4 separate regions of the Homo sapiens genome follow, and all the other regions are linked to region 1. Evidence: promoter capture Hi-C in 16 types of primary human blood cells and fetal thymus (Javierre and others, 2016). All regions are on one chromosome and are shown on one strand. Each heading gives the region's core, a stretch centred on a gene start or on the middle of the fragment in contact. The rest is flanking DNA. Distances are from core to core; before and after follow the strand shown.

Region 1 (2,795 bases), core at 16-2,515:
AGGAGGTAGGAGGTGCATTCTGAAATATTACCCAAATAAAAGTTTCTGGAAGACACCCTTTCCCTTCAATTTCTAGTTGACCTTGGTAAAAACTGTCGCGAACTATGAATAGAAACATGCACGGAGGAAGTAAGTGCACAATAAACATTTCATTTCAACACAGATGAAGCACCTAGTCATGCCACATTTATGGAGCGCCTACTGTGTGCTAAGTAGGCAAAGTGCTATATTGACCCCAGGGATACGCAGAAAAAAACACGGCGGGGCCTCAAAGAGCTGTCAAACACTTAACAGCCTGTGATTAGCCCTTCAGGAGGGGTCTCTAGCTTGGTCTGGAAAGTTAAACTTGAGATTCCTAGAATCTTGCAAAACTGATAGAAGCTCCCAGATCAAGTAGATAGCGAGACAGACTCTCCGGCCAAGTGCGCAGTGGCAGGCGCGGAAGTGCGAGCCGGCAGGACCGCCAGGCACCAGCCGCGCGGGCGTGGGCAGCACAGCCGCAGTTCCCTTCCACTGCAGGTCCCGAAGCCGCTGATATTCCAAACGAGGAAGTGTAAGGAAAGCACTATCCTCGGTCTAGCCGCAGGCGGCATCACCATCAGTCAGCCTCTATCCTAAAAGCTCTGGCCATTCAGCGGGAATCATCGCCTTCACTTCCTGCAGTAGGGTGGCTAAGTTTAGCAAACAAGAATGCAGGACGCCCGGTCAAATTAGAATTGTAACCAAACACCAGAAAACTGTTCCGTTTTTCCTATGTCCACTGCAGTATTTGGGACACACTTGGACTAAGAATCATTCGCTCTTTCAGAGAAATTCCAATTGATTGCGGCGTCTTGTATTTTATGTAGCAATTCACAGAGGGATGGCCTAAGTGAACATGAGTGAAGTATTTTCAACGCGAGAGTCACAGGCTCCTGAAGTCAGCACAGCCGCGGAGGGCACCCTTCCCTGCCCATCCCTCGAGCGCCTCTGCGTGTTATGACTCAGAGCCCACGCGCTAGTACGCCTCGCCCACCCGGCGCCGGGGCAAAGGGGCACCTCCGCCCACCGCTTTCTCCAGACCCCCGCAAGGCCTGCGCACCACGCCGCGGCACTCCTGCCCGCTGACCCCGTACCCAGAGGCCGCAGCTGCCGCAGCTCCCGCAGCTCCCGCCGCCCTGTCAAGCCAGCCTGCCGAGCCGCTCCTGCTCCAAACCAGCCGCGTCCCCGCCAGCGCCGCGCGGCGCCAAATCATGGTCAGAGCCCGGATCTGCAGCGAGCTCTACTGCCGGACACCGCGGATCCCGGGAGCCCGCCTCCTCCGGCCCGGCCCCCGCCTTGCCCCGCCCCGTCCCGCCCCTCCGGACTGCCCGCGCCGCCGCCGGTCACCTCCTCGCAGCTGAGCGCGTCCTCCCAGGGCTGCCCGAGCGCTGGATTCCAGCGAGTGCCACCCACGTGTAAACATCCTTTAGAGGGGAGAAGCGGCTCACTTGCTTATCTCGAGGGTTCATCCGAGCCCCGCCTCTGGATTCTTTTAGGTTTAGGGACGCTCATAAAGGCTCCCAGGCACTTGGAAGCAGTGCATGAGGATGGTGGCAGACATGCTGGGGAAACGGAGGAGAAAAAACATGACCATCCAAAACAGAATCAAAGTGGTGCCTCAGATGTTTCCAACTACCTGTTACACAAGTTTTTGTGTGGATGAAATAAGAGCCTAAATATATCCTCTTATAATTAGGCAATTGGTCGAGACCCAATGTAAATTATGGGGATATTGGGGTTTACATCCATAATTAAAAGAAAAAATCCGGTGTTGAAGGTTTACTCCAAAGAAGACAAAGATTATTTCCCACCACCTGCCAAAAAAAAAAAATTAGGAAACAAAACAAAAGAAATTAGCACAGAGATGTTTCACCATGGCTTTGGAAATGGGCGATTGCTGTTGACAGGATTATTTAAGCCACTCAGTGGTGGTAATAATAGCCTTTGTGCGTCACTATTTAAGGTTGGGGGTAAGCCTTTATTTACTGAGGACACTGAAATTCATCTTAAAGTCAAAGGTCAAATGGTACATCTAAAATTCTAAACAATTATTACAACAATCCAGAGCTTTTTTGATTCTTCATGTTCAACTAAGTGTAAAATTCATGTTACCAAAGTACAAAATAAGAACTTGTATTTCTGACAGTTCTTTTCCAACATTCAAATGGGCTATGTTTGATTACTTAATAAAAGGATGGAAGTTAGTTGCAAAAATAAATACCCCCAAAGGGTAGGAATTCATTCTTTTTAAAGACAAATTTGACTTTGAAAATTAAGGCATGTGGCCAGGCGCGATGGCCTGTCCTGTAATGTGGCCATTACAGGACTGCCCGCTGACCCCGTACCCAGAGGCCGCAGCTGCCGCAGCTCCCGCAGTGGCCAGTCCTGTAATCCCAGCACTTTAGGAAGCCGAGGCGGGCGGGTCACCTGAGGTTGGGGGTTCAAGACCAGCCCCTCCAATATTGGTGAAACGCCGTCTCTACTAAAAATACAAAATTAGCCGGGCGTGGTGGCGCATGCCCGTAATCCCAGCTACTCGGGAGGCTGAGGCAGGAGAATCGCTTGAATCCATGAGGCAGAGTTTGCAGTGAGCCAAGATCACACGATTGCACTCCAGCCTGGGCAACAAGAGCAAAACTCCGTCTCATAAAAAAATAAATAAATAAAATAAAATAAAAATTAAGGTATGTTATCTATCTATAGTGTTGTGGGCTTTTTAATTTTTTTATAAAACTATTTTGGAAATTTATGGTGTTATGTTAGTTTTGAAGTCA
Region 2 (2,775 bases), core at 6-2,505, 530 kb before region 1:
ATACTCCCCTCCCTTTTATCAGCTTTACCTAATACCATCAGAAGCTTCACTAAGTAAATGCTTTTTTGTCCTTTTAAAGGAAAGTATTGTCCTTCCAGGGGTAAAATCCAAGGAGGCTTAAGTTAAACTGGGTACTCTATAAATAAGCCACACTTGTTATATAAACTTTTGAAAGCTTATATTTTACTAACTTCTCTATCCTTATAAATGATTAGTCATCTAGTTCCTTGAGTTTTGTTTGTGTTTTAAACTTTAATCTCAATTAAAGCTAAAACTGTTATCTCTCCAGAGATACTGCCAAAATGTGAAAGATCATTACCTAAGAAGTACACATTATTGGTCTATCCAAATAGACTTTTATTTTACCTTGAGCAGTTTTTCCTCTGATACTGTGACCTTGGTATCAGTATGTTTACAAATTATGTCATATTTGTATACAATTAAACATTTATTTATTTATGATTGGTTTTAATTAAACTTTATTTTTTCCTAATATGCAAAATATGCAAAAATCAAAGTTTGATATACTAGTTATATTCTTAATAAATATGAAAATAATATTAAAAACCATGCACCCCTTAAAATCATCCTATGTATTGCCAGTCGATGTCTAGCACACACCTTGGAAAATATTAACATGGAAATTTCCTGCCATGGAAATAAGGGATGAGAATTGGAGTGGGAAAATGTGAAGATAGCCTCTTATAACTTTCCCTCCTATCAGATATGTGCAAAATAATTAAACAAAAATTATTTGTTTACTTTGCCCTGCTTCCTGCAGAAAAGAAGAGAACTCTTAAAATATTTTGATCAGATGAATTTTATAGTCAAGGACTATCCAAAGCATGGAGTAAGATACAACTCTATGTGATGAATTTCTATGTGAGTTTCTATATGATAAATTAATACGCCAAATGAAACAGTTTATTGAAACATGCAACTTTTTTAAAATAAACAAACATCCTCCAGAACCAAAGACTGATGCTGTTAATGCTTTAGACATGTGACATATGTGTGTGTACCTCTGTATGTTTAATTTTCTTTCTTTCTAATCAAGTGACCTGTTCTCGTTTGGTTAAGTTTCAACCACAAGACACCACTGTATGCTTTTTTTTTTTCAAGATACACGTCACAGCACACCAAGAAAAGGGGAACTTCCAGTGTCTGTGGTAACATCACTTGATAAACAGACTCCTTTAAACAGCAAGTGCCTGTCTGCATTCTACTATATAAAGCAGCAGAGACGTTGACTAGCGCATATTTGCTAAGAGCACCATGCGCGCAGCAGCCATCTCCACTCCAAAGTTAGACAAAATGCCAGGAATGTTCTTCTCTGCTAACCCAAAGGAATTGAAAGGAACCACTCATTCACTTCTAGACGACAAAATGCAAAAAAGGAGGCCAAAGACTTTGTAAGTTTGTTCAGAGTCTCACTTTGTGAATTTTAACAAGTTATCTTTAATGGCAGAAGGATTGAGAATGAATGGAAGAGAGTGTGAGCATTTAGTTTAGCCAGATCAGAGGAGTTAATTGCCTGTTGTGAGTAATAAGTAATATTCAGCTGCATTAAAAAATAAATCTTGATATGGCATTAAATTGGGTAGGAGTTTTTCTCTACACAGGCTCATAAAAATGGGTTCTATAGCAAAATGTTGTATCAACCATTTTTAGTATTGCCTTATTCCTTAGAGAAATTTATTCTATGTCTTTTTACAAATAAAATGAATTCTGAAGAAATATGAATATTCACTTTTATGTCTTTTGTAGTGGAATGGATATGAAAGCATACCTGAGATCTATGATCCCACATCTGGAATCTGGAATGAAATCTTCCAAGTCCAAGGATGTGTAAGTACACTAATACACTAAACTATCATTATCATTTACAAGAGAAGCCTATGCATTATCTCTATATCCCAGCAAGGGATAAATACTGCGCACAGTAGACTTCATTTCTTTTAAGTAACATGCCAAATAAAATTAGACTATCAGTACCAATGTAAATTGAATACAAATGTGTACACACACATATTGGACTTTATCTATTTGGATTTTTTCAAATTTTATTGGCAGGTTTTTTTTTTCATAACTATAGTAACTCTAAGGGAAGTTTTGCATTTTGTGAATAAATTTTAACATATTTATTAGAACTACAGTTTCAGTTTGTGAAGTTATCAAAGTGTAACAGCCATTCTTATTTCATTTGTGCTTACATTTTAAAAATTGACTAATGTATGTACATTTTGTCCCCTGCAGACTTTCTGCTGCTGAAGTAATGCAATGGTCTCAATCTCTGGAAAAACTTCTTGCCAACCAAAGTAAGTATAACTATTGAATGTTTCTGGGTTCAGCTAAATACTCTAAAAAATTGAATGGCTTCACTAAATATAGTATTCTGGGTAGGATAGTATGCAAAAGGTTGTATTCTAGTTTGTCTGTAGTTACTGATAACTTCAGCATAGTATGCCTCTTAATAATGCTGACTTAGCACTCAATTCTGCCAACTCCTTTTAGACAAATTTGCCAAGACAATTAGGTATTTTCATAGATCATTATGGAGATAAAATTAAACATTGTGCTGGGATTCTGATATGTAAAAATTTTAAAAGTAAGCCAAATATTTTAATATGTACATTGCCATTTTGAAATCTGCCTAAAGAATGTATTTTTCTACACTTGGATGTAACAAGTATGATTCATTCATTCAATTAATTAAATTATCTTTCATACATTCATCATTCATCTCACCCTTATGTAGAGGACATTGTAGAGGTA
Region 3 (2,980 bases), core at 275-2,774, 630 kb before region 1:
TCATAGTTTTATTTGGGTTAAATCTCCTTGGTGTTCTATGCCCTTCTTGTATCTCTGAATATTGATATCTTTCTTTAGGTTTGGAAACTTCTGTGTTATTGTTTCTTCGAATAAACTTTCTGCCCCAATCTCTTTCTCTACCTTGCCTTTAAAATCTATAACCCTTAGATTTGTTTTTTGAGGATATTTTCCAGATCTAATCGATATGCTTCACGTCATTTCCTTTTTTCTTTTTCCTTTCTTCTTCTCTGTGTATCTTCATACAGCCTGTCTTAAAACTCACTAATTCTTTCTTCTGCTTAATTCTGCTGTTGATAAACTATGATGCATTTTTTGGTTTCTCAATTGAATTTTTCAGTTCTAGAATTTTTCCTTGATTTTCAAGAAATATTTCAATCTCTTTGTTAAATTTCTCTGATAGAACTCTGAATTCCTTTCCTGTGTTATATTGAGTTCACTGAGCTCCCTCAAAATAGCTACTTTGAATTCTCTGTCTGAAAGATCACATATCTCTGTCACTCTGGGATTGGTCACTGGTTCCTAATTTAGTTCGTGTATTGAGCTCATGTTTTCTGGATGGTCTTGATGCTTCTGGAAGTTCATCAATGTCTGGGCTTGTTTGTACCCATCCTTCTTGAGAAGGTTCTCCAGGTATTCAAAGGAAATTGAGTATTGTGATCTAAGTCTTTGGTCACTGCACCCATATTGTACTGGGTGCACCCCAAACCTGATAATGCTGCAAATCTTGCAGACTTGTACCACCTTAATGGGCTCAGGTAAGATACAAGATTATTTTCTGTATTACCAGGCAGAGTATCTTGTTCTCCTCCCTTACTTTCTGCCAAACTGAAGGAAGCTCTTTTTCCATGTTGTGCTGCCTAGCATTGGGGGTGAGGTGATACAAAAACTCTCCTCGTCACCCTAGCTGTTGTTTTACTGGGAAGTGTGCACCTCAAGTCACTGGCTCTGAGCTCAGCACAGCACCAGTACTTGCCCAAGGACTGCAGCCCTTGTAGTCTGACTGCCTTTCAAATGTATTCAAGACCCCATGCCACTTTAGTCAGCCAGTAGTGGAACTAGCTGGAGCTCAGGCCCCTACTCCTGGGGCAGGAGTTTCCCTTCTGACTGAGGCTGTTTTAAATGTTCCCTCCATGGGCACTGGCAGAATTTTGCCATGTGTAATATGTATTCCACTGTGAAAGGGTAGAACGAAGTTCCAGTGCAAATTCCCACAATCACTTCACTTTCCCTCCCCCAAGCACTCAATATACTCTCTCCATGGCACTGCTGGGGTTGAGGACAGGTGGTGTTGGCAATGCAAGACTGTCTTTCCCACTCTCTTCAATGTCTGTTATTTCGATACAATGTTAAAACCAAGCACTATAATCACTCATCTGATTTTTGTCCTTATAAAGTTGCTTTCTTGCATAGATAGTTGTGCAATTTGGTGTCCCTTTACAAGGGGTATGGCGGGGGGAATTTCTGGAGAGTTCTATTTGGCCATCTTGTTCTGCCTTCCTTAAATTCTTCATTTAAAAGAAGTAAGGTTCTTGATTGATCTAGAGAAGGGAAAATGCTATTTTCTCCTTCTCACCCATTCTGGAATATATTCTGACCATAAAAAAATTGCTATGGCTCATGCCTGTAATCCCAGCACTTTAGGAGGCCAAGGCGGGTGGATCACGAGGTCAGGAGATCGAGACCATTCTGGCTAACATGATGAAACCCTGCCTCTACTAAAAATAAATACAAAAAAATAGCCAGGCATGGTGGTGGGCACCTGTAGTCCCAGCTACTCGGGAGGCTGAGGCAAGAAAATGGCGTGAACCTGGGAGGCGGAGCTTGCAGTGAGCCAAGATCACGCCACTGCACTCCAGCCTGGGTGACAGAGAGAGACTCCGTCTCAAAAAAAAAAAAAAAAAAAAAAAAAATTGCTACCATTTTAATATAGCAATAGAGCAGATAGATACTTCAAATTTGTAAATTGCACATGTGAACTGGGTCTCTTTTATTTAATAATAAATGGACAAGGTAAATGGGAAATCATACACTTATTTACTTATTTACTAAGTACGTATAAAATGACTTCTCTTTCTAAGATGCTATAGTATATTAGGCAGGAGAATTTCCCAGATCTTACTATATTCAAAGCATAAGTGATATGCAATTGTGATACATGTTTAGTTCTATTTGTAAATAAAGAAATTTTTATTTATTTTTTGATATCAGATAAAAAGTAGTCCTTTTGCTATTAGTGTTAGGTTTATTAAGGGAAGATTAAGAAATTACTATAAATAACATATGTCTACAGGCTTACCATATTATCTCCAATCTCTTTATTTTGTATGAGTGCTAGAAAAATGAGATTTACGACAAAGCATATAAAGAGAAAGTCCTCTCTAAAAAATTAAATTTAAGAAAATAAACACTAGTCATTTTGTTTATTTAGAATCTCTTAAAGTATGTTTCTTGGAAAACTTCTTCCCACAAGAATAATGGATAGTTCAAGAAAAAATGTTTATATGATCAAATCAGTTTGGGAAATGCTCTATGTTATAAACTCTCTTTTGGAAATTCACAATACACATGCACAAATTAAAGGGTCTGAAGACCCTTTTAAGTTTAAAAAAAAATTGTTTAGCCCAGTGTTTCCCAAATTTTGGATAGCACAAAGACATGTTAGCAAAGAATGTGATCTCTTATAATTCAAAATACAAGATTTTTAAAGATAGTCAAGTGGCATCAGCTAAAGATGAATATGATCTTCATATATACCCCAAATCTCTGTCTCTTCTGCTCGTAGTGTGTAAAAGGTGTCCTGTTTCTGTTTAAAGGCTTGCTATCCCACTTGACTCTGCTTATCACCTAGTTTAACTTTCTCAATGACCTCATTCCTGCATCATCAATTTTTTGTTGATATTTTTCTTTATTGAGATGCTGGTCCACTGACTATGAAAACAATCTTTTTTAACTCCCTTTT
Region 4 (3,067 bases), core at 232-2,731, 560 kb before region 1:
CTTAATTTGAATTTCTTGGTGCAGGCAAAAGGATTTGTGAGAAATGTTTTACCCTCTTTCATTAAAAAAAAAAAAAACTATTCAATAGCAACTGTCTGAAGAAGGGGAGAAAAAAGGAAAGAAAACAAGAAAAGCCACAAAGCCCAGCTGCACTTAGTTTCTGTTCACTTAGTGCAGCTTATGACGTAGGCTCGTTGTATTTTGAATTTGCACATTAAAAACATTCATTCAGAGAGGAAACTGCCTTTGGCATAACCTGCAGAAGCAAATAGCATTCACAGAACTGTTATTCAAAAAATTGTACCCAGAGAGCTATATTTCTTATTTAAATGAAACTTAAGTAGAACCAGGGAGGAGGGGGAGGTATGTTTTATGGTGGGTAACTTCTGACTTAAAATTTGAATCAGGTTTCATAAACAATTATTGGAATCTGAGAAAAAGTCAAGCATCAAACCCTGAGTAGCTGAGAGTTTGGGGGTCTCACAGCACAAAAAAAAGGGTGTTGAAAGAGGAAGCCCCGTTTTTGCTCTAAGTGACTTGCCTGATCCCGAAGTTATGTTAGCTTGTTTACCTCCAAGCACACCTTTGGAGTGAGATTTTTAAAGCAGTTCTCTTTGTAACATCAACATTACAATCTATATCCTGAAAACTACGAAGTTTTATATTCCTCCTTCCCCTCACTAGGCCTCCCCTGGCCTGCTTGTGTATTTGCTTCTTAGGGTCTACAGGCCTCTCTCTGAACTAAAGCTCTTTTGAAGTCCCAGACTTCCTATCTCCACCCAGGATCTAACTTAGTGTGATAAAGGATAATTTATTTATGAAAAACATTCATGCCATTCTTTTAAACTAGAAGCTTACATTTCAAGGGTATGGAAATGATTTCTAGCTGCCCTAATTTCATGGCATTGGGCTGTCGTATGTCATATACCACTGCACTGTTCATAATATTTAGACAGTTCCATAGCAACCTGTAAAATACAGCCTCCAGAGGTCTGCATTCCTCCAGCTATTCATGAAGGATTGGAGGAATTCCAGAGGAAAGAAACCACATTACAGAGCACTGGGTCTGAAATGCTCCCTTTATGGTAGCAATTGCAGGAAACCTGGAGCAAAAACATGTCTTAGGATTTGATGCAGACCTCACTACAGTTTCTAGAAGCATTCCCTTTTCACTTCTAGTTTTCTGACTTTACTTATAAGGTATCCAAAAATGGTTTGATAAAATTAGACTGCTTTATAGCTTATCTTTTTTTCCTTTCCAGGGTGGACAAATAAATTATCAGATTTTTATTACTTAAAATGTGTTATACAAAAATATTAGTGGGCAATACAGAAACGCAAATATATTCTAAGGCCTGGTTCTCTTTCCATTTGCTTCTTGAAATTTGCAAGTAAAATTTTCATTTTGGCCTACTTTTGAACCAGACCACAAAAACTTACTTTATTACACTATCCATTCACATTAAAATAGAATTTCTACAGTGACCAGCACAGAGATTTTAAATAAATGTGGTCGACACTCCTTAGTCACTGTTGCCATCTTCACTCTCTCCATCTCTCATTTTCATCAACCTGTAAGATAAGTCACTATCTATTTTCTATCTATATTTCATTCAAAATGTCTTATACGTTTGTAGCTCTCTATTCTCATAGGTACTACTTATCTCCAAATTATATCTCCTCGCATAAGATTACCATAATAGTCTACCACTTTATGTCTTTTAAAATATTTCCTGTAGCACCTTATAGAACACACAATATTTTATATATTCATCACATTTGATCCTCAACCTATGTTTTAAGCAAAGCAAACATCATCCCAGCTTCACAGATAAGAAAATGGTCTCAAGAAGACTAAATGACTTTCTTAATCAATGTCATGAAGGTAGCAAGAGACAGAAACAAAACTTGAACTCAAAACCCTTGAATCTAAATCCCAGTTCCCTAAACTTAATACTTCCTTCTTAAGGCCAAATAACAACAGCACAATAAAACCCGCTAAAAATTTCAACAGGTCCCTATTTATTAAACACATATGGCAACTTAGAAGTGGAGTGGCCTTACAGAGTATGAGGTTTAACAATCCTCATTTTATATATTATAGCTCCAGAAGCTTGAGGACTGGGTGATATTTCCAACATTACAGAACCAACGATAGACCCCACCAGTTCTTGAATCCACTGACTCCCAGCTACAGCATTTTCTGCTACACTTTTCTGTCTTACTGCCTTAAGTGACCCCCAGAATTTTTAGCTTTTGATAACATGTCCCAGTAACATGTCCAGCTTTAATTTTACCATCTCAAAAATGTGCCTCTGCTAAAAACAGGTTTATACATTTCACTTTCCAACAGGGGGACCACACTGATACAACCTCTGGACAGTGGTCCACATTGCTCACCAAACCTGGAGCAATGTTCCCTTCAGTCTTTCCAAGTACAAGTCCTAGTCAAATTCTACTCCCTGCACAGAGCTGGCATCTCTGTACCTCAAGAAACCTCCCTTCTCCGACTTCTTGCAGTACTTGTAGTTTCTACCACACAGATCTCATACCTGCAAATCCCTTTGAGGTCAGTGGCCAACTGGTCCTATGTTCCTGTCTAATCTCGTTCCCATGTTCTCCTCACTGAGAACAGTTGTTATATGAAATGTTATTTCCTTTTCCTAGAATATCCTTCCACTCTCACATATTAAACTGTCTAGAATATTCCTACTCAGGCTTTGCTTCTCAGCTTAAATGCTGCTTCCTCCATGAGGCCCCTGCTGTCTCTAGGTGACATAGGAAAGCTGTTTTCTGAGTTCCTATAGCATTCTGTACATTACTCCTTCAAACCAGTTATCTGATTTATATTGAAGTTGTCTACATGTCTGTTTCCTCACTAAAGATTCCTTGTCATAGACACAGTCATCAGCTTTTCTTATGTACTAAGTACTATTCCCAGGACAAAACTGGCACATGATATTTGTTAAATAAATCCAAAAATGAAATATTTATTTGCATAATAATGAAGACATTCTGTGTTACTTTAAGCTTAATAAATAAATACGGAGTTGGAAGCTTAGAGGGA

What was found. The method cuts DNA at HindIII sites, captures the fragments that hold promoters and counts their contacts. A CHiCAGO score of 5 or more calls a contact.
Region 2: a contact is called between the fragment with the promoter of RGS1 here and the fragment with the promoter of GLRX2 in region 1, in 7 of 17 cell types (M0 macrophages, M1 macrophages, M2 macrophages and 4 more). The highest score is 11.3, in M0 macrophages.
Region 3: a contact is called between a fragment that was not itself captured here and the fragment with the promoter of GLRX2 in region 1, in 2 of 17 cell types (neutrophils and M0 macrophages). The highest score is 7.0, in neutrophils.
Region 4: a fragment that was not itself captured here is called in contact with the fragment with the promoter of GLRX2 in region 1 in 1 of 17 cell types (M0 macrophages); the score reaches 6.2 in M0 macrophages.

Annotation. Positions count from the first base shown.
Region 1 is chr1:193,104,149-193,106,943 of GRCh38, forward strand. It overlaps GLRX2 (glutaredoxin 2), which reads right to left and starts at 1,266. Exons shown (of 4, transcript NM_197962.3): 1 at 1,116-1,266. The coding sequence starts at 1,234. RefSeq lists silencers at 1,055-1,154, 1,131-1,425, 1,205-1,444. The HindIII fragment of the contact is 5,966 bases long and covers 1-2,795 here.
Region 2 is chr1:192,574,518-192,577,292 of GRCh38, forward strand. It overlaps RGS1 (regulator of G protein signaling 1), which reads left to right and starts at 1,256. Exons shown (of 5, transcript NM_002922.4): 1 at 1,256-1,412; 2 at 1,768-1,848; 3 at 2,257-2,318. The coding sequence starts at 1,276. The region is part of intron 3 of LOC105371664 (a long non-coding RNA gene); the gene reads right to left. RefSeq lists an enhancer at 1,101-1,180. The HindIII fragment of the contact is 3,705 bases long and covers 174-2,775 here.
Region 3 is chr1:192,469,193-192,472,172 of GRCh38, forward strand. No RefSeq gene overlaps it. Among named protein-coding and RNA genes, the nearest start is that of RGS1, 110 kb to the right of the region's middle. The HindIII fragment of the contact is 7,907 bases long and covers 1-2,980 here.
Region 4 is chr1:192,538,942-192,542,008 of GRCh38, forward strand. The region is part of intron 4 of LOC105371664 (a long non-coding RNA gene); the gene reads right to left. Among named protein-coding and RNA genes, the nearest start is that of RGS1, 35 kb to the right of the region's middle. The HindIII fragment of the contact is 1,260 bases long and covers 852-2,111 here.